Regions from separate parts of the Homo sapiens genome. Here all the other regions are linked to region 1. The links are contacts of gene promoters, found by promoter capture Hi-C in blood cells and fetal thymus (Javierre and others, 2016). All regions are on one chromosome and are shown on one strand. The core of a region is centred on a gene start or on the middle of the fragment in contact, and the rest is flanking DNA. Distances in the headings are between cores, read along the strand shown. Region 1 holds the start of MTCH2 (mitochondrial carrier 2). Region 2 overlaps PTPRJ (protein tyrosine phosphatase receptor type J). Region 3 overlaps PTPRJ (protein tyrosine phosphatase receptor type J). Region 4 holds the start of PACSIN3 (protein kinase C and casein kinase substrate in neurons 3). Region 5 holds the start of NR1H3 (nuclear receptor subfamily 1 group H member 3). Region 6 overlaps MADD (MAP kinase activating death domain). Region 7 overlaps MADD (MAP kinase activating death domain).

Region 1 (3,249 bases), core at 339-2,838:
ACTGCAACCTTCACCTCCCGGGTTCAAGCGATTCTCCTGCCTCAGCCTCCCGACTAGCTGGGATTACGTGCACGCACCACCACACCTGGCTATATTTTGTATTTTTAGTAGAGACGGGGTTTCACCATGTTGGTCAGACTGGTCTCAAACATCGACCTCGTGATCCGCTCACCTCGGCCTCCCAAAGTGCTGGGAAGGCGTGAGCGAACGCGCCCGGCCCCAAGGGTTCTTACTATATACTGCAACATGCTGTCACCTCCGATGCTATCTAGCCCCAAATGTGCCAATTCTGTTTTGGATGTTACAGTACATTCTAATCAGTCTTTGTTCTAAGTACAAAGAATTTATTTGCAATAGCCTTTAACATATGGAATCTGAATTCACACAGGTCTACTCAGCAAGAAATAATTTGGATTCCCAACAACTCAAGAATAAGAAATGGGGCCCTCTCTAGTGTCTTGCCTATTTTTTACAGAAAAGTAGACGGCGAGACAGGGGTTCTAAAAACTGTTCCATTCCTAGGCACAGTGCATGAGGTAATTATGTCAACTCTCAGTAAAAGCATAAAAAAAAGAATGACCTGCCCATTACAGGGATATAGCAAAGGAACTGGAAACACTAAGTCTATCACTTACTTGGCCTACCTGCATGTGAATATAAAATACCATGTAATAATTATTTGACAGTAGATTAGAAACTAACTCCCATGTTTAAACTCGCTAAAACTCAGCTTCACTAATTTCCAGCTCTGACAAATGTGATTTTCATTGTCAGGAGCCACATGGGCCGCTGCTGGAAAGCGCTCAATGCATCCTTCCGAAATCTGACAGAGCAACCCCTTCATTAACACTTCTGAATGAGCTCCTTGTGTTTCTCTCAGTATCTGGTGCGAAAACCTCGGAACAGAAAAGCAGTAGTAACAGTAGCATAAAAAGAAAAAAAAAAGGAATAAAAAATAAAATGTTGGTTCCCACCTAACTTCACATTTGTCTTCAACTGAGTATTTCGTGTTTTGCGTCTGAGATTTTGGGGGGAGTAGTGGTGAATGTGAATTTCGGAGGGGCGAGAGGGAGGGTTCGGAAGCCTTTGGTGGCGACCGGCCAGGATCCACCTCAGTGACGAAGAACCAAAGTTCAGAGGATCCGCCGGGCAGGGCAGGGCCGGGTGGCGGTTGGCTAAGGGAGGAGAGGGCCTCAACGCTGGGCGGCGAGGCGAGGGCTCGGCGAGGCCCCCAAGCGGGGCCGCGGGACTGAGGAAGCTGTCCCTGCGGGGAGGTAAAGGGCAGCGGAGGAGCAGCAGCATCTCGGGAGAATGAAAGGCCCGCAAGGCTGAGCCGATCCTCAGGCGCCCTGAGCAGCAGCGACCGAACGGGGCGCCGGGCGGGGTAGGGAGCGGCGACGCCTCATACCTGGATGAGCACTTTCACGTACATGAGCGGCTGGGACAGGATGGTGAGACCGGAGCCCAGGAGCACCTGACTGGCCGCGTCCGCCATGATGGCACCCGCGGGCGGACGGACAGACAGACGGAGCCACCAAGCGACCCGGTGAGCCGGTCCTAGGTCACGTGCCAGGGCCGCCGGTTTCACTGGCCCGCCCGCGGCGCGCGCGCACGCACGCAGCAGCACGCGCCTCTCCGCCCAGTCCCCGCCCCCCCGTCCCGCCCCGAGAAACGGCAGGCGCTCGCGAGGGGGCGCTGAGGTCGGGGCGGGGCTTAAGGGACAGAGGCGCATGCGTTCTGCCGGGGGCTCGCCCTTCACCAGGAATGACGGTTTCTCTTGCACATGCGCTTCCAGGCCGCAAGTGTCCGGAAACAGAAGAATGGGAGTGTCAGTGGGGGAGTGTGACCGTGACGGCAGAGGCAAGGTCAGAGGACTGAAAAGAAATTGAAAAGGATTCTTCATTATGCTTCATCTCTGCACTTGCCTTTTGGGCATCATCAACATAGGATTCAAAAGATACTCAGCATCAGAGCCGTAACAGTCTCGTGACTGACAAACTCTAAATAAGTATAGCAAATAATGAATCCGCTAGCGAGTGGCTTTTCATTCATTTATTCGTTTGATTAATGTTATCTTTTCAAAAAAACCTTCTCTGACCATTCTAAAATTACCTCCCCCTTTTCTTTTTCTTTCTTTTTTTTTTTTTTTTTGAGACGGAGTCTCGCTCTGTCACCCAGGCTGGAGTGCAGTGGCCCGATCTCAGCTCACTGCAACCTTCGCCTCCCAGGTTCAAGCAATGCTCCTGCCTCAGCCTCCCTAGTAGCTGGGATTACACGCACACGCCACCACGCCCGGCTAATTTTTGTCTATTTAGTAGAGACGGGGTTTCACGATGTTGGCCGGGCTGGTCTCAAACTCCTGACCTCGTGATTCACCCGCCTTGGCCTCCCAAAGTGCTGGGATTACAGGAGTGAGGAGCCATCGCGCCTGGCCACCTCCCTCTTATTTTCTCCCACATTGTGCCCCGTCGTAGCATTATCACTGAAATTATGTCTCCTCCACTGGAATGAAAGCTCCATGAGTTCAGGAACCGTGACAGCCTCTGTTCACGGTTGTGTTTTCAGTGCCCAGCACATACGAGGTGCTCAATAAATATTTATTGCACAAGTGAACAAATACTTCAGTGCCTACCAGTCTACAGGCTATCAGAGGCAAAAGTGAAAAAGGCATTGTCCCTGCTCCTTCAGCCCCAGCTCACGTGTTCTATCAAACAACATTTGGTGAATCTGAGCTTGGAGCAGAGTGAAGTACTGTAGGGGAAAGACTTGGATTTGGATCCTGGCTTTTCCACTGCATCCATTTGTCATTTTAGCTACTTTAATTTCCAGTTTTTGTATCTAAATCTAACACTACTGTGTATCTCTCAGGGTTATTATGAGCATTAAGTGAAATTATGCATAGGAAAGGGTTTTTTTTAAAAAACTTTATATTGAAATACAGATATTGGCTGGGCACGGTGGCTCACACCTGTAATCCCAACACTTTAGAAGGCTGAGGTGGGTGGATCACCTGAGGTCGGGAGTTCAAGACCAGCCTGACCGACATGGTGAAACCCCATCTGTACTAAAAGTACAAAAATTAGTTGGGTGTGATGGCGGGTGCCTGTAATCCCAGCTACTCGGGAGGCTGAGGCAGGAGAATCGCTTGAACTCGGGAGTTGGAGGTTGCAGTGAGCCAAGATTGCGCCATTGCACTCCAGCCTGGGTGACAGGGCGAGACTCAGTCTCAAAAGAATAAATAAATAAAAA
Region 2 (3,249 bases), core at 493-2,992, 490 kb after region 1:
ATGTTTCCTTCTGAGTGACTGATTTAAAAAACACAACAAAACAAAAAAACCTCTTTATTGAGATATAATATACATACCGAAAAGGGATGTATCCTCAGCACATAGCTTCATGAACTTTTACAAACTGAACACATCTTGTTACCAGCACCCATATAAAAAAACTGAATGTGATTTCCACTTCAGATGACCCCTTGAAGGGCTTTTTTTTTTTTTTTTTTTTTGAGATGGAGTTTCGCTCTTGTTGCCCAGGCTGGAGTGCGATGGCGCGATCTTGGCTCACTGCAACCTCTGCCTTCCGGGTTCAAGTGATTCTCCTGCCTCAGCCTCCCAAGTAGCTGGGACTACAGGCATGCACCACCACGCCCGGCTAATTTTGTACTTTTTTTGATAGAGACGGGGTTTCTCCATGCTGGTCAGGCTGGTCTCAAACTCCCGACTTCAGGTGATCCGCCTGCCTTGGCTGCCCAAAGTGCTGGGATTACAGGCGTGATCCACCGCGCCTGGCCTTTTTTTTTTTTTTTTTTTTTTTGAGACAGAGCCTCATTCTGTCGCCCAGGCTGGAGTGCAGTGGTGTGATATCGGCTCACTGCAACCTCTGCCTTCTGGGTTCAAGCGACTCTTGTGCCCCAGCCTCCCGAGTAGCTGGGATTACAGGCGTGTACCACCACACCCAACTAATTTTTGTATTTTTAGTAGAGATGGGTTTTCACCATGTTGGCCAGGCTAGTCTCGAACCTCTGACCTCAAGTGATCCATCTCGGCTTCCCAAAATGTTGGGATTACAGGCATGAGCCATTGCACCCAGCCTAAGGGCTCATTTTTAAGACAACAACAAAAAACTGGAGAACTGGTAAGATAAACTGGGAAGTTCATGTGCGTCACAGAAGAGCTGAAATTCTTGAGAGCACTGAGTGTGTGCATTTCTCAGCTCGATTTTGGAGTGTGCCTTTTGTGAACTCATTAGAAAGCGTAATGGCAAAAGAGCAGGTCCTCTCGACAGCACTTGGAGAGGAAGCTGGGCGTCATGATAGTAACAGTTTTCCCTTCTCCTTCCTTTCTTCTGAGCAGTTCCCAGTGCAGTGTTTGACATCCACGTGGTCTACGTCACCACCACGGAGATGTGGCTGGACTGGAAGAGCCCTGACGGTGCTTCCGAGTATGTCTACCATTTAGTCATAGAGTCCAAGCATGGCTCTAACCACACAAGCACGTATGACAAAGCGATTACTCTCCAGGGCCTGATTCCGGGCACCTTATATAACATCACCATCTCTCCAGAAGTGGACCACGTCTGGGGGGACCCCAACTCCACTGCACAGTACACACGTAAGTCTCTTAGGATGCCCTTCTAAGGAACAGCCTCTCTAACTGTCTCTTGGAGGAGGCACTGGTTAAATGATGGCCAGTGTGCTTCTGGGATCCAGGTTGACTCTGAAACTGCTGAAGTTGAAAACATTGGTCTCAGCAATGGTTCTGCTGTCACCATGGGGCACTGTTCTTCAAGCTATGTGAACTTAGAATTGTCATTAGAAGGAAGAAATGATTCCTTGGGAATGGTGACTGAAATGGTTCTAGTCATTCCTTGAGAATACAGAGTAGAGAAGGGTCACCTTGTCATGTTGGTATTGGAAGATACTGCCCAGATGAGGAGCTTCGCCTGCAACAGTTAGGGAGGTGTTTTGCGAATATTTGAATTAAATACATGGTAAAGATGTTAGTTTGTAATATGTTTTTAGTATATTTTTCTCCATCTATTAGATTTAAAAAACAGATTAGAAATTAAATGTTAAAAATATATTTGAAATAAACTTGAAGTATTAAAAGAAGCCTAAATTAAACTTCTTTTGAGACTTAATCTGTATAATTATTTTCTTGATGTGTTTTTGGGAAGTTTTCCATCTTTTGAGCCAGCAAATACTAGTTTTATTCATTCTTTCTAAAACGAGCCAGGCTATTTTTGGATATAGTAAATAGTCCTGGAATTCTACTTAATCTGTGCTTTTACATGAATTGCCTTTTTTTTAAAATCAAGGGCCCAGCAATGTGTCCAACATTGATGTAAGTACCAACACCACAGCAGCAACTTTAAGTTGGCAGAACTTTGATGACGCCTCTCCCACGTACTCCTACTGCCTTCTTATTGAGAAGGCTGGAAATTCCAGCAACGCAACACAAGTAGTCACGGACATTGGAATTACTGACGCTACAGTCACTGAATTAATACCTGGCTCATCATACACAGTGGAGATCTTTGCACAAGTAGGGGATGGGATCAAGTCACTGGAACCTGGCCGGAAGTCATTCTGTACAGGTGAGTGTAGCCCCAACTGCCTCTTGGACTCCTCCCTGAGTGGTGCTGACCTTGCAGGTCAGTCCTCCCAAGTCTGTAGTTTGTCTGGTTTTGTGTGATGTGCAGTGATGGACATTGAGCTTTCCGAGGCATCCTGTTAGCTTATCGGTGCTGTCTCGATGCCCTCATCATTTCTGCATTCAATAAATATTTATTGAGCATATACCATATGCCAGTCAAGTCCTTGCCTTCTTGGAACTTTTCGAAGGAGGAAGTGGGATGTTTACCTAGAGTGCTCAGGAAAGGCCTCAATGACAAGGTGACTTTTGAGCAAAGATCTGAATGAAGGGAAGGAGCCAGCCATGTGGATATCAGGGCATGAGAACATTACAGGCAGAGGCCTGTGCAGAGGGGCCTGTGCAGCATCACCACTGTATCTGGAGGCTGGAGGAAGAGCAGGAGGCAAGGGTGGGAGGAGTGGACCCGCAGGAACAGGAGGATATAGGTGGGAGGTGAGGCCTGAGTGGGGCTGAGCCAGGATGTGGATGATATCTGGCATTGGTTTGTCTTTTGTGCTGGAGAAGATGAAAAGTTTATTGAAATGATGCCCAGCCTTTGCATCCTTCTTGATCCTCACCTATCTCACAACTGAAAATGTGTGATAAAGAGAAGAGCCCTCTGTGTAATTGAGGATGCTTTCAGGGCAGCCCAGGAAAGGCTTTGCAGACAGTGGTGGGCACTTCTGCTCACAGTGCTGACTGTGGCACCTTTATCACTCAGCACCCGTGCACTACTCATTTTCTGCCCTTCTCGCTCCTACCTCTTCCCTTTTTAGCCCAGGCCATTCAGATATGTTCAGGCTGATTTGGAAGTGATGGTCTCATGGGATCAGCCTCCCTGGTAGTATAGGAGCTCCAGCCTTGATGGCCTCTGGCTTTTCAGTGGTGAGTGGGGTGGCC
Region 3 (3,249 bases), core at 343-2,842, 470 kb after region 1:
TATAATTTTAAGATATATGCATGCCTGTGTGCATATGTATATACATATATATGTTTTATTTTGTTTTACAAATATCAAGGTCATCCTTTACATGTAGCTTCTCACCAATATATTACAAATATTCTTCCCTGTTAGTATATACATTTCTACAGGACAGTTTTAATACCTGCCTGGCATTCTATTTTCTAAATCAGGGTTGGCAGATAATAATGGTCCTTGGGCCAAATATAGATCACTTTCTGTTTTTGTAAGTAAAGTTTTATTGAGTCTGCCTATGGCTGCTTTCATGCTAGAATTGAGTAGTGGCAATGGAGAATTTGTGGCTTGTAAAGCCTGAAATATTTATTCTGTGGCCCTTACAGAAAAACATTGCTGATACCTGGGTTAGATAATTGATTCTAAAACTGTGGTTCAGAGATCTCTAGGGGTCTCCTAGATTCTTTCAAGGTATTTCTGGGTATTGTTTTCATAATACTACTAACATGTTATTTGGCTTCTTTACTCTCATTTTATCATGAGTGTACAGTGGAGTCTTGCAGATTCTATATGATTTGGGATGACACTGTCACTCTTACAGCTAATGGAATGTATGCTTTCATATTGTTTAAAAAACTTTATCTTTTTTATTTCTAATACAGTATGGTAAATATTAATCAATATAACCCATATAAACAAAAATTCTCCGGGAGCCTTAATAATTTTTAAGAAGTTAAAAGGGCCCTGAGACCACAGTGTTTAAGAATTACTTGTCTAAAAGCATTGTAAATTATTTAACTGCTCCCCTGTTGTTGGGAAGGTAGATTATTTATTTATAATTTTTCATAAAAAACATTGTGATACAATAGTTTTGTTAGTTCTAGAAGTATTGATAAAATCACATACACAGTTAAAATAAGTCATTGAATTATTTCTAGGGTAATATGAGAAACTTTTAGAAATTCCTAAGGGGCTGGGCACAGTGGCTCATGCCTGTAATCACAGCACTTTGGGAGGCTAAGGTGGGTGATCACCTGAGGTCAGGAGTTCAAGGCCAGCCTGGCCAACATGGCAAAACCCCGTCTCTGTTAAAAATACAAAAATTAGCCGGGTGTGGTCATGCATGCCTGTAATCCCAGCTACTCGGGAGGCTGAGGCAGGAGAATTGCTTGAACCCAGGAGGCAGAGGTTGCAGTGAGTGGAGATGGTGCCACTGCACTCCCGACAGAGTGAGACTCTGTCTCAAAAAAAAAAAAAAAAAAAAAAAAAAAAAGAAAAATTCCTAGCAAGCTTATGTTAATTATTGTTACAAAAATTTGGGCTTAGAGGTTGGGACCATACCAGATGGTCTTCCCAGAAATCACTGGACAGGCTTACTGTTGAAGGGCATTTCCAGAGGAAGCCAATCTACAATGATTGGAATAAGAACCTACTTCTTCAAATATACAGACATCAACACAGAGTCACAAGGATCAAGAATAATCAGGGAAACGTGATATTACCAGAGAAACAAAATAAAGTGCAAGTGGTTGACCATAAAGAGATGGGAGATGTATGAACTGTCTGACAGAGAATTCAAAATACATGTTTTAAGGAAGCCTAGCAAACTTTAAGAAAATACAGATAAAGAATTCAAAGAAATGAGGAAAACAATAAGTGACTAGATTGAGATATTTAACAGAGAAGCAAACAGAAATTCTGAAGCTAAAAAATACTTTGAACAAAATGAAAAATGTAATAGAGAGCACCAAGAGTAGAACTGATCAAGTAGAAGAAATAATCCTTGAACTTGAAGACAGATTATTTGAAAATATACAGAGGAGGAAAAATAAAAAAGTGGATAAAAAGGAATGAAGAATGCCTATAGGATTTATGCAACAGCATCAAAAGACGTGGTATTTGAATTGGAGTTCATCTAGGGGAAGAGAAAGATAAAGAGGTAGAAAGCTTATTTAAAGAAATAGTAGCAGAAAACTCTCCAAACCTGGAGAAAGATATAAATATCCAGGTACAGGAAGGACAAATGACTCCAATCAGAGTCAATTCAAACAAGACTACTCCAGAACATAATCACACTGTCAAACATCACAGACAATGGGGATTTGGAAAGCAAAAAGAGAAAAGAAGCAAATAACATGTAAGGGAGCTCCACTTCAGCTAGCAGCAGACTTCTCAGCAGAAACTTACAGGCCAGGAGAGAGTGGGATGATATATTCACCATGCTGAGGGAAAACAACCTGCCAACCAAGATTGCTATACCCAGCAGAACTGGCCATCAAAAATGAAGGCAAGATAAAAGACTTTACCAGAGAAACAAAAGCTGAGGGAGTTCATCACCACTAGACATGTCTTATAAGAAATGCTAAAGAGAGTTTTTAAGCTGAAAGAAAAGGACACTAGTGATTAATTGAAAACATATGAAAGGATAAGACTAGTAAAATAAATACACAGTCAAATTCAGAATACATGAATACTGTAATGGTCATACATATCTTTAATATGAAAGTTAAAAGATAATACTTAAAAAATAATAACTACAATAACTTGCAGGGGGGATATGCAATATAAAAAGATGTAAATGGTGACATAAACAATTCATAATATGAGTGGGGAATGGACTAGAAGTGTAGAGGTCAATTTGTGTGTGTGATCAAAGTTGTCATCAGCATAAAATAACCTGTTATAACTATAAGATTCTTTTTATAAGCCTCATGGTAACCACAAAGAAGAACCTTTAGTAGATACACAAAAAATAAAAAGCAAGGAATCAAAACATACTACTAGAGAATATCACTTAACCTCAAAGGAAGATAGTAAGAGAGGACGGAAGGAACAAAGAGTCTATAAAACAACCAAATGGCAGTAGTAAGTTCTTACCTATCAATAATAACCTTGAAAGTAAAGGGTTTAAATTCTCCAATCAAAAGACATAGAGTGCGTGAATGGGTTAAAAAAAAAAACCGATCTCAATAGTATGCTGTCTACAAGAGACTCACCTCACCTGCAAGGACATGCCTAGACTGAAAGTGAAGGGATGGAAAAAGATACTCCATGCTAATGGAAATCTAAAGAGTGGCAGGAGTAGCTATACTTATGTCAGATAAAATAGACTTTAAGTTCAAAACTTTTAATGGAGACAACAAACATCATTTTATAATGATAAAGGGATCAATTCATCAAGAGGTCTTAACAATTATAAATATATATGCACCCAGCATTGGAATGCCTAAATATATAAAGCAAATATTAATGGATCTGAATGGACAGATTGAC
Region 4 (3,249 bases), core at 479-2,978, 460 kb before region 1:
GCAGTGTGTCCTGTCTGCCCAGAAAGGACCTGACAGGGCGATGGAGAGAAAGAGAGCTGCTGCCATGAATCACAGGGCTCTGGAGCCGCCCCAGTCCAGCCTCAGGAGCCTGGGGCCCCTTGCCTGTTCCAGCCTCCGAGTTCCCTGCTCCCCAGAGAGCTGCCCCCCACCCCTTCCCTCTCTCTGGCCCCAGAACAGAGCAAGCTGTGTGTACCGGGCTGGCACAGCTCCCTCCGGCCTCCCAGAGCAAACACAGGCCCAAGCCCCGGGTGCAGCCAGGCCCCACAGCCCCAGCCTGACCTCTCAGCAAGCAAGCAAGGAGGGCTTGCACCTTGGCCCCCATTGAGCAGGTTGGCACCCTGTGCCTCCTGAGCTCAGCAGAGACCCAAATCAGTCCCCACCGCAGGCAAGAGCTCAGAAAGCAGGTAATGCAATCTTCCCAGCCCCGGGAGCCAGCACGTTCGGCTCCGAGAGGTCTTCCTGGGCTTGGCAGGGTCTCCTTGCAGCTGCACGGGCCAAGGTAGGAAGTCCCTGGTTCAGGGAAGACCCAGTCTCCCTACCTGAGGCCTGAAGGTACCCGGCCCCAGACCAGCCCCAACCTCTTCCAGAAGCTGGGGGCTTGCCCCTGGGAGGGAGCTCAGCCATTCTGCCTGGCCCATCCCTGGAACCTGAGTCACAGGCTGCGCCCAAGGGCTTCTTTCCCGGGCAGCCCCTCCCGGTGCGCCCGCAGCTCTAGGATTTGAGGACAGAGCGGGGGGGAGGGGAGGGGGCGTCAGTAGGCTGGTCCGAAGAGGGACAGCGAGGTTAGAGGGGCTGGAACCAGAAGCCAGAGCCAGCCAGGAGATCAGGAGGCTGGGGGAGGGGGTGGCGCAGCCAAAGCGGGAGGAGGCAGGGCCAGGGAGGGGCATAACAAAGGGGCACTTTTGGAAACCCGACCTGCCGGCCGGGGTGCCTGCTTCCAGATGACGCACTCCGAACCCCAGCCTCCACTCCAGAGCTCGGCGCCCAGAGGCTACGCGCCTCTGGCCTCAACCCTTATGGACCGCGCCCCTCGACAGGACCCCTTGCCGCCCGGAGCTGCATAACTCGGAGCCCGTGGAGCCACGCGGAGCGGCAGGGCCAGGCCTAGCCACCGAAGCTCTAGACTTCTTGGCCAAACTTGTTGAACTTGGTCTTGGCGGGGGTGGGGCCACTGATCACCGCCAAGGGGAGGGGACGCCCCCTGCCTGGGCCGGCCTTGCCGTGGGCTCCAGATGGTGGCCCCGGGCAGCGGACCCAGGAATCGGGGCTCGCTGCATAGGGCGAGGGATCGCCAGGGAGCGAGGACCCTCTGGGGCCTCGGGGCGGGCGCGAGGCGAGCGGACGGGGGCCCTCGAGGGGCCCCTGAAGACGGCTCAGCCCTCCAGCGCCGGCGCCGCCTCCCCCGGGCGGCCTGCGGAATTGCGAAGCCCGCGGCACCGCAGATGGGACGGCCCCTCGGCGCGGCTACGGCCCTTCCCGTCGGCACGCAGAGCGGGGTGGCCGGGGGCTCCCTGGGCGGGAGTCGGCTCCATTGCAAACTTCAGAAGCCGGAGCAGGAGAGGGCGGGCTCGAGCCACCGCACCCGCCGCCGCCTACCCGCGCGTCCCCTCCAGGGCACTCACCGCGTCCTCCCTGGGCCCCTCGGCGGGTGGGGGTCCGGCCACGCTCCGGCCCGAGTCCTGCCGCTCCTGGGCCCGCGCCGCGGCCTCCCGGAGCGCGCCGGGCCCTCCCCCGGGAAGCCCGGCCCCCGGCCCCCGGCCCCGCCCCTCTCCTGGCCGCCGCTGCCTCAACCCCACGCGGCGGGGCAGCGGGGCTGCAGGCATCGCGGCGACCAGCGGCTCTTGTGGCGCGGGTCGAGGTTTCTCTGCTTCGCCCGTGTGCGGAGTGCCTGGGCGGGCTCCCCAGGGTTGCGCCCCGGTGCCGCAGGGAGCCAGATTTCGGCTTTGCCTCTCCCGGACCGTTGCAGAGCCTGGGAGACCCGAGGGAGCAAGAAGGGACCGGGCCGGCACGGGCAGCCTTGGAGAGGGGCCGGGGGAATTACACTGCCTTACATTTTTAGCTGCACAGCTTGTTTAGAAATTGGCTCAGGCGAGGCTCACAACCACCCCTTGTAAGCATTAGGATTCCCACTGTACAGATGCAAAAACTGAGGCTCGGGGGCTTTTCAGAGGCTTGCCCAAGATTTCCCTCTAGTCAGGCAGGGCTGGGACTCCAAAACCGTGCCCTACCGTTCCACAGCTGCCCTGCTAATCTGGGGCGCCTTCTAAGGCCTGAGACGAACACGCGGTGGGGGTGGGACAAAAAGGCCTAAGCTCCTCCCGCTCCGAGTTCTTATTTCCAGATTTTGTACCACGATTCATTCTTACCCTTCGCCCCTCCACCCCCTTTATCAGTCTGGTACATTTTTCCATATCGCCACGATGCCACCCCACGCTAAATAAATCCCTTCTCCCTCCTCTCTCCCTACTTCCCTCTCCCCGCTTTCCCCCGGGGGTGAGATTTTGCAGAGCGGCTCCGTCTGTTATTTATATCCACTGGAGCGGTCCAAGAATGTTCCGAAGCTGACCTAATCGCCACCTGCTCGGCCTCTCCGCCCCTCCCACTCTCTCCTGGGCCCGGTGACCCAGCGGCGGTGCCCTGAGCCTTGAAGACCAGGGGGAGCGCGGACCAACGGGGTCGAACGCCCGGGCGCAGAAGGTCCCGGACGCAGAAGGTCCCGGGCGCGCAGAATCGCAGCGGGTCGGAGAGCCCCGGCGCTCTCAGAGGAGTGCGCCCCCAGGGACGCGGCTCTGAGCCCTGGGAAGCTGAGGCGCCTGGCTGCGCCCTCTGAAGCTCGTACTTTTCCTCCCACCCTCAGCTCCCTGAAGAGTGTGAGTGCGTGCGCGCGGAGTTTTAAACGGCAGCTTTAAAAATAGCAAAATTATGTTGTTTCTAAATCCAGGAGGAATCACTGACGCGTTCTTTACGCAGATGAATCCGCTCACAAAACGGGAAAGGGACCTGGAGAAAATGAATGGGGGTAATTTTGCCTGCCGAGGGCTCACTTGCTGGGCAGTGCTAATGGAAGGGTAAAACTGCCTCCCCAAGACACCTGTGGGGCACCCAAGGCGCGCCACCTTTGGCCTGAGGATTCTGGCCGTGTTTGGCAAATCATAGCTGAGTAGTGAATCTGAAACCTGGGATGTGGTTTCTGAGACCAATTTCAACACCCACTCTCTCTTAGGGCTT
Region 5 (3,249 bases), core at 361-2,860, 380 kb before region 1:
AATATGATGTCTACTTTCAGGGATGGATTTCATGCCCCAGGCAGCAGAGTAGGAAGAATGACTATAGTCTCAGTAGCTGCTGGTTGGAGCCTGCCATCACTTCAGATGGGGTTGTTCCCCAGAAGAGGCAACCCGCATACCTTCCCAGGTCCATCCTGGGCTGCCACCTGAGTTGCCTGTCTTCCTTCTGCCACCTCCACCCCTATCCCAGGCCTGCCACTGCTCATAGCAGATTTCCTATCAAAGGCTCTCCTGGCCTCCTCTCTTATCTGTGGCCCCCGCAGGGCACCCACTTTCAGAAACTCCCTGGAAGGCCCAGCACCTGCCTCTCTCCACCCCTGGATTTCTACCAGCTTGGCTGAGGCCTGGGGCTAGTGGGGAGAGCTTCTTGGCCTCTTCCCAGAGGCAAGGGAGGAGGAGGGAGGCTGGGAAAGCCGCTGGGGCTCAGTGTCGCAATTCCGGGCCGTGCTGGGACCTTTGCTCCACGAGGTGCCTATGGAGGGGAGGGAACACGATTCTGGAGGCTGCTGGGATTGGGGTGGGGGTTCCTGGGAGGCAGTCCTTTTGCAAGAGCTGCTAAGAGCGCTGGGTAAGGAGAGGAAGGGGAGAGACATGGAACTTGGCTGGTCTGCAGGGAAATGCCACTGTTTTGGCCGGGAGTAGGGGGCGGGAGTGGCGGGAGAGGGGGTGGCCGGCTGGGGAGGAGCCAGCCTGGTGGAGAAGCTGCCCTGTGGGCGGGGGTGAGGAGGGGAGGGCTGTGGTCACCAGGCAGGAAGGAGGGGTGGCCTGACCCCTCGGCAGTCCCTCCCCTCAGCCTTTCCCCAAATTGCTACTTCTCTGGGGCTCCAGGTCCTGCTTGTGCTCAGCTCCAGCTCACTGGCTGGCCACCGAGACTTCTGGACAGGAAACTGCACCATCCTCTTCTCCCAGCAAGGGGGCTCCAGAGACTGCCCACCCAGGAAGTCTGGTGGCCTGGGGATTTGGTGGGTCTGCTCCTTAGCAGTGGCCTGGGGCTCTGTGTGTGTATCTGGGGTGGGGTCGGGGAATGTCCTAAGGATCTGAGAAGGGGGTTTCTGGGGAGAAGTGAGGGGTGATGGTGATGGAAGCTTGGGACAGGAGCAGGACTCTGGGTCCCAGAATAACTCATGAGGGGCTCAGGGGAGGAGGTCCTCTATGTGAATTGGGGAGATTCTTGGAGACAGGTTTGTGCTGGGACCCTGGAAAGTGGCACGAGCGAGGTTCTCTAATAAGCAGCGTGTTTCACTGGGTGGAGTGAGCTGTCCTCAGTGTTGGAGTGAGGGGGAAGGGGCCCAAGAGAAGCAGGGCAGATGCACCCAAACATTCCCTGCTGGCCTGGAGGGGACTTTGGGGGAGAAAAGCCGGCACGGTGGCTGGGAGCCCAGACTTTGGAGTCAGAGGAGGGTTGGAGTCTTGACTCTACCGCCGCCTAACTGTGTGACCATAGTTACTTAATCTCTTTGAACCTCAGTTTGCTTATCTGTAAAATGAGTTTAAGAATAGTCCTGAGCCAGGAGCAGTAGCGTGCGCCCATAATCTCAGATACTCAGGAAGCTGAAACCTGATTGCTTCAGCCCAGTAGTTTGAGGCGATAGTGTCCTATTATTGCACCTGTGAATAGCACTGAGTTCCAGCCTGGGCAACATAGAGAGACCCCATCTCAAAAAAAAAATTAATAGTTTTGACCTCAGAGGGATATTATGAGGAAAGCACATAAAGCCTTATAACAGGCTGGGCGCAGTGGCTTACTCCAATAATCCCCACACTTTGGGAGGCCCAGGTGAGAGGATCACTTGAGCCCAGGAATTCCTAGACTAGCCTGGGCAAAATAGGGAGAACCTGTCTCTAAAAAACATAATAGTAATATAATAAAGCCTTAGTACAGGCTAATATATGGCAAGTAAATGTTAGCTGATATTGTTGATATTGATAAAAGGGAGGATCAGGTGGAGAAGGGAGCTGAGGCCAGAAAGGAGCCCAGTTCTAGAAGAGTATAATCTGGGTCCTTCCTGCAGGACAGTGCCTTGGTAATGACCAGGGCTCCAGGAAGAGATGTCCTTGTGGCTGGGGGCCCCTGTGCCTGACATTCCTCCTGGTAAGCTTCATTCCATCCCTCTCCCCTGAGCCCAGACCGCAGGCTCCACGCCTCCTGTAGGAATCAGCCTCCTTCATTACCTGCCTTCTTCCTTCCTCCAGAGAGCAGTCCAGAGTCATTCTTAGTCGTGCTTGCCTCCCGCCCAGATCACCTCTCCCCTGGTTCCAGTGCCTGGCCCTTGCAGGCACCCGCCCAGTCCTCCCCAGTCTGGATTTGCTGCTAGAGAGTTGGCCAGCTGAGTGCTTACCCTGCTCTGGCTTTGAAGAGTTTTATCTGATCTCTGAAATGCATACACTCCAGCCCCCCAAAGGGACAAGGATTAACATCTTCATTTAAGGTCCTGAGATGTAAGAAACTACAAGTGACTAGTCCTAGCTAGAGCCCACACAGACTCTAGGGTCCCAAAGCCTGAGCTGGGACTTTGCTGCCCTCTAAGGGTGGGGATAAGTTTGCAGTTTCCCAGCTAGGACGCTGGGCCGTGGAGCCGGGATGGGGCCTGAGACCCCCTTGTGCCTCTCTTTTGGAGCTCAGACTCTGCGGTGGAGCTGTGGAAGCCAGGCGCACAGGATGCAAGCAGCCAGGCCCAGGGAGGCAGCAGCTGCATCCTCAGAGAGGAAGCCAGGATGCCCCACTCTGCTGGGGGTACTGCAGGGGTGGGGCTGGAGGCTGCAGAGCCCACAGCCCTGCTCACCAGGGCAGAGCCCCCTTCAGAACCCACAGGTGAGGAGCTTCTGGGTTTGGAGGAGGTAGGGGTCCAGATTCCAGGTCCTGGATCTGGAAGAGGTTCCTTGGGGGTTTTTACTTTATATATAATCTCATGGTTAAGTTCAGAGGCTTTAGAGCTAACTAAATCTGACTGATCTAAGTGTGAATTTTGTCTCTAGGCCTTTCTGAGCCTCACTTTCCTTGTTTATAAAATGGAAATAAAAATTATGGTTGTCATAAGGATCAGTGCATATAAAAGGCTCATACAGTACCTAGAACATAATGGCACTTGGCAAATGAGGGCTACTCTTCTCATAAAAGAGAGACTGGAGTTTGTATAATGAAGGGAATGAAGGTCACTGAGTGCCCAGGGCAGTGGCTGAGTCAGGGAGAACATGATGTTTTTCCTCGGGGGAGAGCGTTGAAGCACT
Region 6 (3,249 bases), core at 264-2,763, 360 kb before region 1:
CCATATTTTATGTTTTGGAGTGATTCTTACTGGATGGCTCATGACAGGTGGTGCTACAGTCCCGAGACTACAATGCACTCTCCATGTCTGTGATGGCATTCGTGGCAATGATCTACCCACTGGAGTATATGTTTCCTGTCATCCCGCTGCTACCCACCTGCATGGCATCAGCAGAGCAGGTGAGTCTCAAGGCGACTTCCGGCTTTCTCACCTCTGTCTTCCTGAGGGAGGAGGCTTAATGCTCAAAGAAGTTGTAAGTGAGTGCTGGTCCTCAATCCTTTGTCATAACTTATTTGTCTACAAAATCTGACTGATTTGAACTGATCTGGTGGCAAGGCTTATGCTATTTTAGTTTTCATTTATCACAACAAATGTTAATGACTGTAGGCCACTGGCTACACTGCAGCAGGTGTTACGTGTGTTACGTAATACAGTAGTTCCTCCTTATCTGTGGAGGACACATTCCAAGACCCACCAGTGGATGCCTCAAACCACAGATAGTTCCAAACTCTATAGATACTTTGTTTTTTTCTATACATATATACCGGTGATACCGTTTAATTTATGAATTAGACACAGTAAGAGAGTAACAGTTTTCTCTTTGGGCATATATTTGGTGTTTTTTGGAGACAGAGTCTCCCTCTATCCCCCAGGCTGGAGTACAGTGGCACAATCTCGGCCCACTGGAGCCTCTGCCTTCCAGGTTCAAGTGATTCTCCTGCTTCAGCCTCCCTAGTAGCTGGGATTACAGGCACTGCCACCACCACACACCAAATAATTTTTTGTATTTTTAGTAGAGGCGGGGTTTCACCATGTTGGCTGGGCTGGTCTTGAACTCTTGACCTTAGGTGATCCGCCTGCCTCAGCCTCCCAAAGTGCTGGGATTACAGGCATGAGCCACCGTGCCCAGCCTCTTTCTACATATATTTGGCTTCTCTTTGGCATATCCCAATTGCCAGCATCAGTACCCTTGTGCTTTGGGGCCATTATTAAGTAAAATAAGGGTTACTTGAACACAAACGCTGAGATTGTGTGACAGTTGATCTGATAACCGAGATGGCTACAGGCTGGACACAGGGGTGATTCATGTCTGGGTGGGACAGAGCGGGACAGCATGAGATTTCATCATGCTTCTCAGAACTATTGTCCTGCACTTCAGATATGATCAAGCTGCAGTTTAAAATTTATGAATTGTTTATTTCTGGAATTTTCCTTTTAATATTTTCAGACTACAGTTTGCCTCAGTTAACTGGAATCACAGAAAGTGAAACTGTGGATAAGAAAGACTACTGTATACAAAAAAATGTACCATGTTACCTTTCAAAAAATCTGAAAAATTCTGAATTTTCAAATACATCTGGCCTCAAGAGTTTTGGAAGAGGGATTGTATCTGCATTTCCTTATCTAGAAGAATCCAGACTTGATAAGTGCTCATGATAGGTTTTGTCTTTGTTTCTCACCTTCTTTATCATTTCCACAGCTGCTGTTGGCTCCAACCCCGTACATCATTGGGGTTCCTGCCAGCTTCTTCCTCTACAAACTGGACTTCAAAATGCCTGATGATGTATGGCTAGTGGATCTGGACAGCAATAGGGTGAGGTTCTTGGCTGAGGCATTGTAGAGTCTAGAGGAGGATTGCATTCTAGACCCAGTCCTGAGATATCTGTTTCTAGATTCCTTTCAGGAACGTCCTAAGTTGTTGGATAATTTCTATTGCGAGACTTACTGAAACAAGTTTTTTTAAATGCTCCTTTTACCTTATTAGCCAAATAAACCCTTGGTTAGGTCTCAGAGAATTACAGGATTTATTTTTGCCAGAATTAAGTGACCCCCCACCATATCCTCCAAGAGCAGTCAGACAGTTGTGATCTGAGGGCCATTACATGTGGTATAGATCATCTCTTAATGGTTTCCCTGGGGTATAGTTTCCAGTAAGAAACTGTCTTTCAGTGCAGGCTTAATTAATTATATGACCATTCTGCAATGTGAATACATTCAGACTTTGGTGGGAAGCCCTTATGTGTGCTCATTGTAAAACTTAAAAAAAATAAAAATAAGCGTAAATAAAATAAGTGAAAAGAAAAACCATAATCCTTTTATCTAGAGATAATAACCAATAACATTAAGTTATATTTCATTTCAGATGCATATGTATGTCATATATGTGTGTACATATATCTTACTGTGCAGTTATATAATGTATATTCGTTTATATAATAATAATGTATATACGTCCTCTTATTTTTATTTATGTAAGTGAAATTCCTGAGCAATAAACTCTAAGGTCACGTCTTTTATCATTTCTCTGGTGCAGGTGATTGCCCCCACCAATGCAGAAGTGCTGCCTATCCTGCCAGAACCAGAATCACTAGAGCTGAAAAAGCATTTAAAGCAGGTAGGTGAAGAACGAAGGAAAGAAAGGGGAGTATTAGATGCTGTGGGATTCCTATAAGAAGACAGCTATTCTCAGAGCCAATTTCCTATCAAACTTCAAGTGGAGTAGTTTTCTTCACCCTGGATGGGCTTAAGAAAACGCGTATCCCATTTCTGGGTGGCAGAGTGAATTTCTGTTTTTGATTCCAATTCATTGTATGCTTTACCATCTTCTAATGCTTATGATGCTGTATAAAATAGCCCTTCACTCTCTGTTTCTTGTATGTGTGCCACTCTCTATGGCTTCAGAACATTTTCTCAGTCTTTTTTTTTTTTTTTTTTTGAGATGTGGAGTCTTGCTCTGTCCCCTAGGCTGGAGTGCAGTGGCGCGATCTCGGCTCACTGCAAGCTCTGCCTTCTGAGTTCACGCCATTCTTCTGCCTCTCCAGGAGCTGGGACTATAGGCGCACGCCGCCACACCCGGCTAATTTTTTTGTATTTTTGGTAGAGACGGGGTTTTGCCATGTTAGCCAGGATGGCCTCTATCTCCTGACCTCATGATCCGCCTGCCTCAGCCTCCCGAAGTGCTGGGATTACAGGCGTGAGCCACTGCGCCCGGCCGATTTTCTCAGTCTTGTTAGGTGGAAGTTAGTAGTGTGGACCGTCTGGCTGCTTTTATATTATCTTCTAGAGTTGATCCTGAGGGTTCCTTTCTTCAAAAATTCCTTTATTTGGCTGGGCACGGTGCCTCATGCCTGTAATCCCAGCACTTTGGGAGGCCGAGGCAGGTGAATCACGAGGTCAGGAGTTGAAGACCAGCCTGGCCATTATGTTGAAACCCTGTCTCTACTAAAAATACAAAAATTAGCCGGGCAT
Region 7 (3,249 bases), core at 478-2,977, 350 kb before region 1:
AGGGTGCTACTTTCTCTTTGGAGGCTGCTCTGAGTCTCAGGTCAGCATGGTTCTCATGGTGGAGATGTTTACCATCATAGGTGTGTGTATACGAGATTTCACCCAGAGCTTCTCATCTTATAAAGAAGGTACTTCCAGAGGCTATCTGACACACTTTTGAAATTTAATACTTTTTTATGGTGGCAGGGAGCTCTAACAGCTTGGTATTTCTGGGGCCCATCCCTGGGGACTGTCTCTTACTACCTTTTTTCCTTTCCAGGTGAGTAATAGCTCTGGAGAGACCCTTGGAGCTGACAGTGACTTGAGCAGCAATGCAGGTGATGGACCAGGTGGCGAGGGCAGTGTTCACCTGGCAAGCTCTCGGGGCACTTTGTCTGATAGTGAAATTGAGACCAACTCTGCCACAAGCACCATCTTTGTAAGCTTTGTTTATTAACAAAAGAAAACCATTTCTTTAATGGGGGAGGGAAGCAGGCAAGAAAAGAATGAAAGTTAAGAGACGCTAAAGAGGTAAAGGTTAAATAAGGAAGAGGTAATCTTCTTATATTTGGCTTTAAGGAAAACATTTCTTAAGGCTTTGTTCAGAGTCATTTGACTCACAATCTGGGGCTTTTAGAACCCTCTCCTGAATCATTGATGAGTTAGGCTCCGTGCCCAGTCACGTAAGGGCTTTGAATCCTATGTAGTATTAACCCCCAGGTTTAACACAGGCAAAGTAATACCTTTGTGGCAATGTCAGGACAATTACAGCTCTCGTTTAGTACCAGTCTGCCTATTTCTATGGACTATCCAGTTTTATTTTGGTCACTGCTCTATTTATAAATAAAATAGCATTTTATTTTAGTATATTCCTAACAGTTATTTGAAGTTTTCATTCATTAATAAACATCCATGAAGTGATTTACTAAGTGCCAGATTTTGTGCTAAAGAAACAGGGATGAAAAAGGCATGGTTTCTACTCAAGAAGTTTGTGATTCACTATATTGCTGTGAGTAGTCTCTTCTAATAGGTGAGGGGAACAATGCCTTAGGAAAAAAGAACTTCCCTAGATCACACAGTAAGCCCATGATCAGCTGGAAGGAGATGAATTCTTTTTAGTCCTTGCCGTAGACATCTGTTTTTTGTTGTTTTTTTTTTTTTTTTTTTTTACACAGGGTCTCACTCTGTTGCCCAGGCTGGAGTGTAGTGGCACAGTCACTGCTCAACTGCTCACTGCAGCTTTGACCTGTTAGGCTCAAGTGATCCTCCCACCTCAGCCTCCCAAGTAGCTGGGACTGCAGGCATACACCACCATGCCTGGCTAATTTTTTAGTTTTTTGTAGAGATGGGGTTTCCCTCTGTTGTCTAGGCCAGTCTCAAACTCCTGGGTTAAGTGAGCCTCCTGCCTTGGCCTCTTAAAGTGGCATGAGCCACTGTGCCCAGCCTCTGCTTTTTAATGTGTATGTGCCTCTATAGGCTGTGTTAAAACACTGATAGACTTGTTACTTTATTAAACAGAGATGAGAATGGATGTTCTCTACAAGAGCTTATACGCATAGGTCCTTATCTTTAAGGCCTATGGGGAGAAAGGAAGATAAAAGTTAAATGAAACCAACTATTTAAAACTGGTTATCATTCCCACCCCCAGAGCCTTCTGTATGTGTGTTTTTAATAGAGTCAGTGACCTCCCAGAGTGGAGATTGGGAATAGGACTGAGAGGCTACTCAAGTTAATGGGCCTTAACTCTCTCTCAGTCTGAACAGACTGATTGGCTGATTGAGTGATTGATTTTTCTTTTGTGCTGACAGTTTATTAGGGGTTTTCTTTTCTTTTCTTTTTTTTTTTTTTGAGATGGAGTCTCGCTGTGTCACCCAGGCTGGAGTGCAGTGGTGCGATCTCGGCTCACGGCAAGCTCCGCCTCCTGGGTTCACACTCTTCTCTTGCCTCAGCCTCCCAAGTAGCTGGGACTACGGGTGCCCGCCACCACGCCCAGCTAATTTTTTGTATTTTTAGTGGAGATGGGGTTTCACCATGTTAGCCAGGACGGTCTTGATCTCCTGACTTCGTGATCTGCTCGCCTTGGCCTACCAAAGTGCTGGGATTACAGGCGTGAGCCACTGCTCCCGGCCAAGGGTTTTCAATAATGTTTTCTTTTCTTTTCTTTCTTTCTTTCTTTTTTTTTTTTTTTTTGAGATAGAATCTTGCTCTGTCGCCCAGGCTGGAGTGCAGTGGCGCGATCTCTGCTCACTGCAATCTCCACCTCCCAGGTTCACACCATTCTCCTTCCTCAGCCTCCCGAGTAGCTGGGACTACAGGCGCCCACCACCATGCCCGGCTAATTTTTTGTATTTTTAGGAGAGATGGGGTTTCACCGTGTTAGCCAGGATGGTATCAATCTCCTGACCTTGTGATCTGCCCACCTCGGCCTCCCAAAATGCTGGGATTACAGGCATGAGCCACCGCGCCCGGCCTTCTTTACATATTAGTTCAACCTTCACCACAAAATCTAACCATGGATCGTAAAAATTAAATTGGCAACGGGGCTAGCCTGCTATACTTCCTGTTTACTTTTAGATGCTTTTCAAACCAATAAGGATGACATTTGTGGTGGAAGGAGCCAGAGTAATAGGAAAATTACTTCTCTTCGCTTAGAAGAAAATCCTCCACCTTGAGCATCTTCTGAACTTTTTACTATAAGACATCTCAGTGCTTGCTTGTACTCTTCAGCCGCATAACTGTGAAGATAGCAACCATCAGTTTCTCATAAATGGAAGCGGCAGTGAGAACCGTCTACAGCAGTTTGGCTTCAAGGCCTGTGTAGAGGCCCATTATTCCAAAACACCTGTTAGCCATTTGTATGTCTTCTTTTGAGAGAGATCTATTCAGCTCATTTGCCCATTTTTAAATAGATTATTTGTGTTTTTTTGCTGTTGAGTTTTTTCTTTCTTGTATATTCTGGCTATTAATCCCTTGTCAGATGAATAGTTTGTAAATATTTTCTCCCATTCTGCAGACTGTCTCTTCACTCATTTCATCGTGTCCTTTGTTGTGTAGAAGCTTTTTAGTTTAATATAATCCTGTTTTTGCTTTTGCTTTTGTTGCCTGTACTTTTGAGGTCTCCATAAACTTTTTGCCCAGACCAATGTCCTGAAGCATTTCTGCTACGTTTTCTTCTAGTAGTTTTATAGTTTTGGGTCTTACAGTTAAGTCTTTAATCCATTTTGGGTTGATTTTTGTATATGGTGAGAGCTAAGGGGTCTAGTTTTATTT

Evidence for each region. The method cuts DNA at HindIII sites, captures the fragments that hold promoters and counts their contacts. A CHiCAGO score of 5 or more calls a contact.
Region 2: a fragment that was not itself captured here is called in contact with the fragment with the promoter of MTCH2 in region 1 in 1 of 17 cell types (naive B cells); the score reaches 5.3 in naive B cells.
Region 3: a fragment that was not itself captured here is called in contact with the fragment with the promoter of MTCH2 in region 1 in 3 of 17 cell types (total B cells, naive B cells and activated CD4 T cells); the score reaches 12.8 in total B cells.
Region 4: a contact is called between the fragment with the promoter of PACSIN3 here and the fragment with the promoter of MTCH2 in region 1, in 1 of 17 cell types (neutrophils). The highest score is 6.2, in neutrophils.
Region 5: a fragment that was not itself captured here is called in contact with the fragment with the promoter of MTCH2 in region 1 in 1 of 17 cell types (neutrophils); the score reaches 5.8 in neutrophils.
Region 6: a contact is called between a fragment that was not itself captured here and the fragment with the promoter of MTCH2 in region 1, in 1 of 17 cell types (neutrophils). The highest score is 5.5, in neutrophils.
Region 7: a contact is called between a fragment that was not itself captured here and the fragment with the promoter of MTCH2 in region 1, in 4 of 17 cell types (monocytes, M2 macrophages, M0 macrophages and 1 more). The highest score is 8.5, in monocytes.

Annotation. Positions count from the first base shown.
Region 1 is chr11:47,640,971-47,644,219 of GRCh38, forward strand. It overlaps MTCH2 (mitochondrial carrier 2), which reads right to left and starts at 1,589. Exons shown (of 13, transcript NM_014342.4): 1 at 1,409-1,589. The coding sequence starts at 1,495. RefSeq lists a silencer at 1,510-1,779. The HindIII fragment of the contact is 6,217 bases long and covers 1-3,249 here.
Region 2 is chr11:48,134,971-48,138,219 of GRCh38, forward strand. PTPRJ (protein tyrosine phosphatase receptor type J) reads left to right here. Exons shown (of 25, transcript NM_002843.4): 9 at 1,069-1,326; 10 at 2,033-2,311. Among named protein-coding and RNA genes, the nearest start is that of MIR3161, 40 kb to the left of the region's middle. The HindIII fragment of the contact is 7,863 bases long and covers 1-3,249 here.
Region 3 is chr11:48,113,210-48,116,458 of GRCh38, forward strand. The region is part of intron 3 of PTPRJ (protein tyrosine phosphatase receptor type J); the gene reads left to right. Among named protein-coding and RNA genes, the nearest start is that of MIR3161, 18 kb to the left of the region's middle. The HindIII fragment of the contact is 657 bases long and covers 1,265-1,921 here.
Region 4 is chr11:47,184,706-47,187,954 of GRCh38, forward strand. It overlaps PACSIN3 (protein kinase C and casein kinase substrate in neurons 3), which reads right to left and starts at 1,729. Exons shown (of 11, transcript NM_016223.5): 1 at 1,644-1,729. RefSeq lists silencers at 1,358-1,677, 1,728-1,827 and an enhancer at 1,499-2,385. The HindIII fragment of the contact is 15,006 bases long and covers 1-3,249 here.
Region 5 is chr11:47,257,147-47,260,395 of GRCh38, forward strand. NR1H3 (nuclear receptor subfamily 1 group H member 3) reads left to right here and starts at 850. Exons shown (of 10, transcript NM_005693.4): 1 at 850-983; 2 at 2,034-2,113; 3 at 2,645-2,833. The coding sequence starts at 2,071. RefSeq lists an enhancer at 2,290-2,858. The HindIII fragment of the contact is 1,012 bases long and covers 1,105-2,116 here.
Region 6 is chr11:47,276,685-47,279,933 of GRCh38, forward strand. MADD (MAP kinase activating death domain) reads left to right here. Exons shown (of 37, transcript NM_001376571.1): 5 at 48-179; 6 at 1,481-1,594; 7 at 2,315-2,395. Among named protein-coding and RNA genes, the nearest start is that of MADD-AS1, 6.2 kb to the left of the region's middle. The HindIII fragment of the contact is 3,970 bases long and covers 1-3,249 here.
Region 7 is chr11:47,295,638-47,298,886 of GRCh38, forward strand. MADD (MAP kinase activating death domain) reads left to right here. Exons shown (of 37, transcript NM_001376571.1): 24 at 260-418. Among named protein-coding and RNA genes, the nearest start is that of MADD-AS1, 25 kb to the left of the region's middle. The HindIII fragment of the contact is 2,613 bases long and covers 422-3,034 here.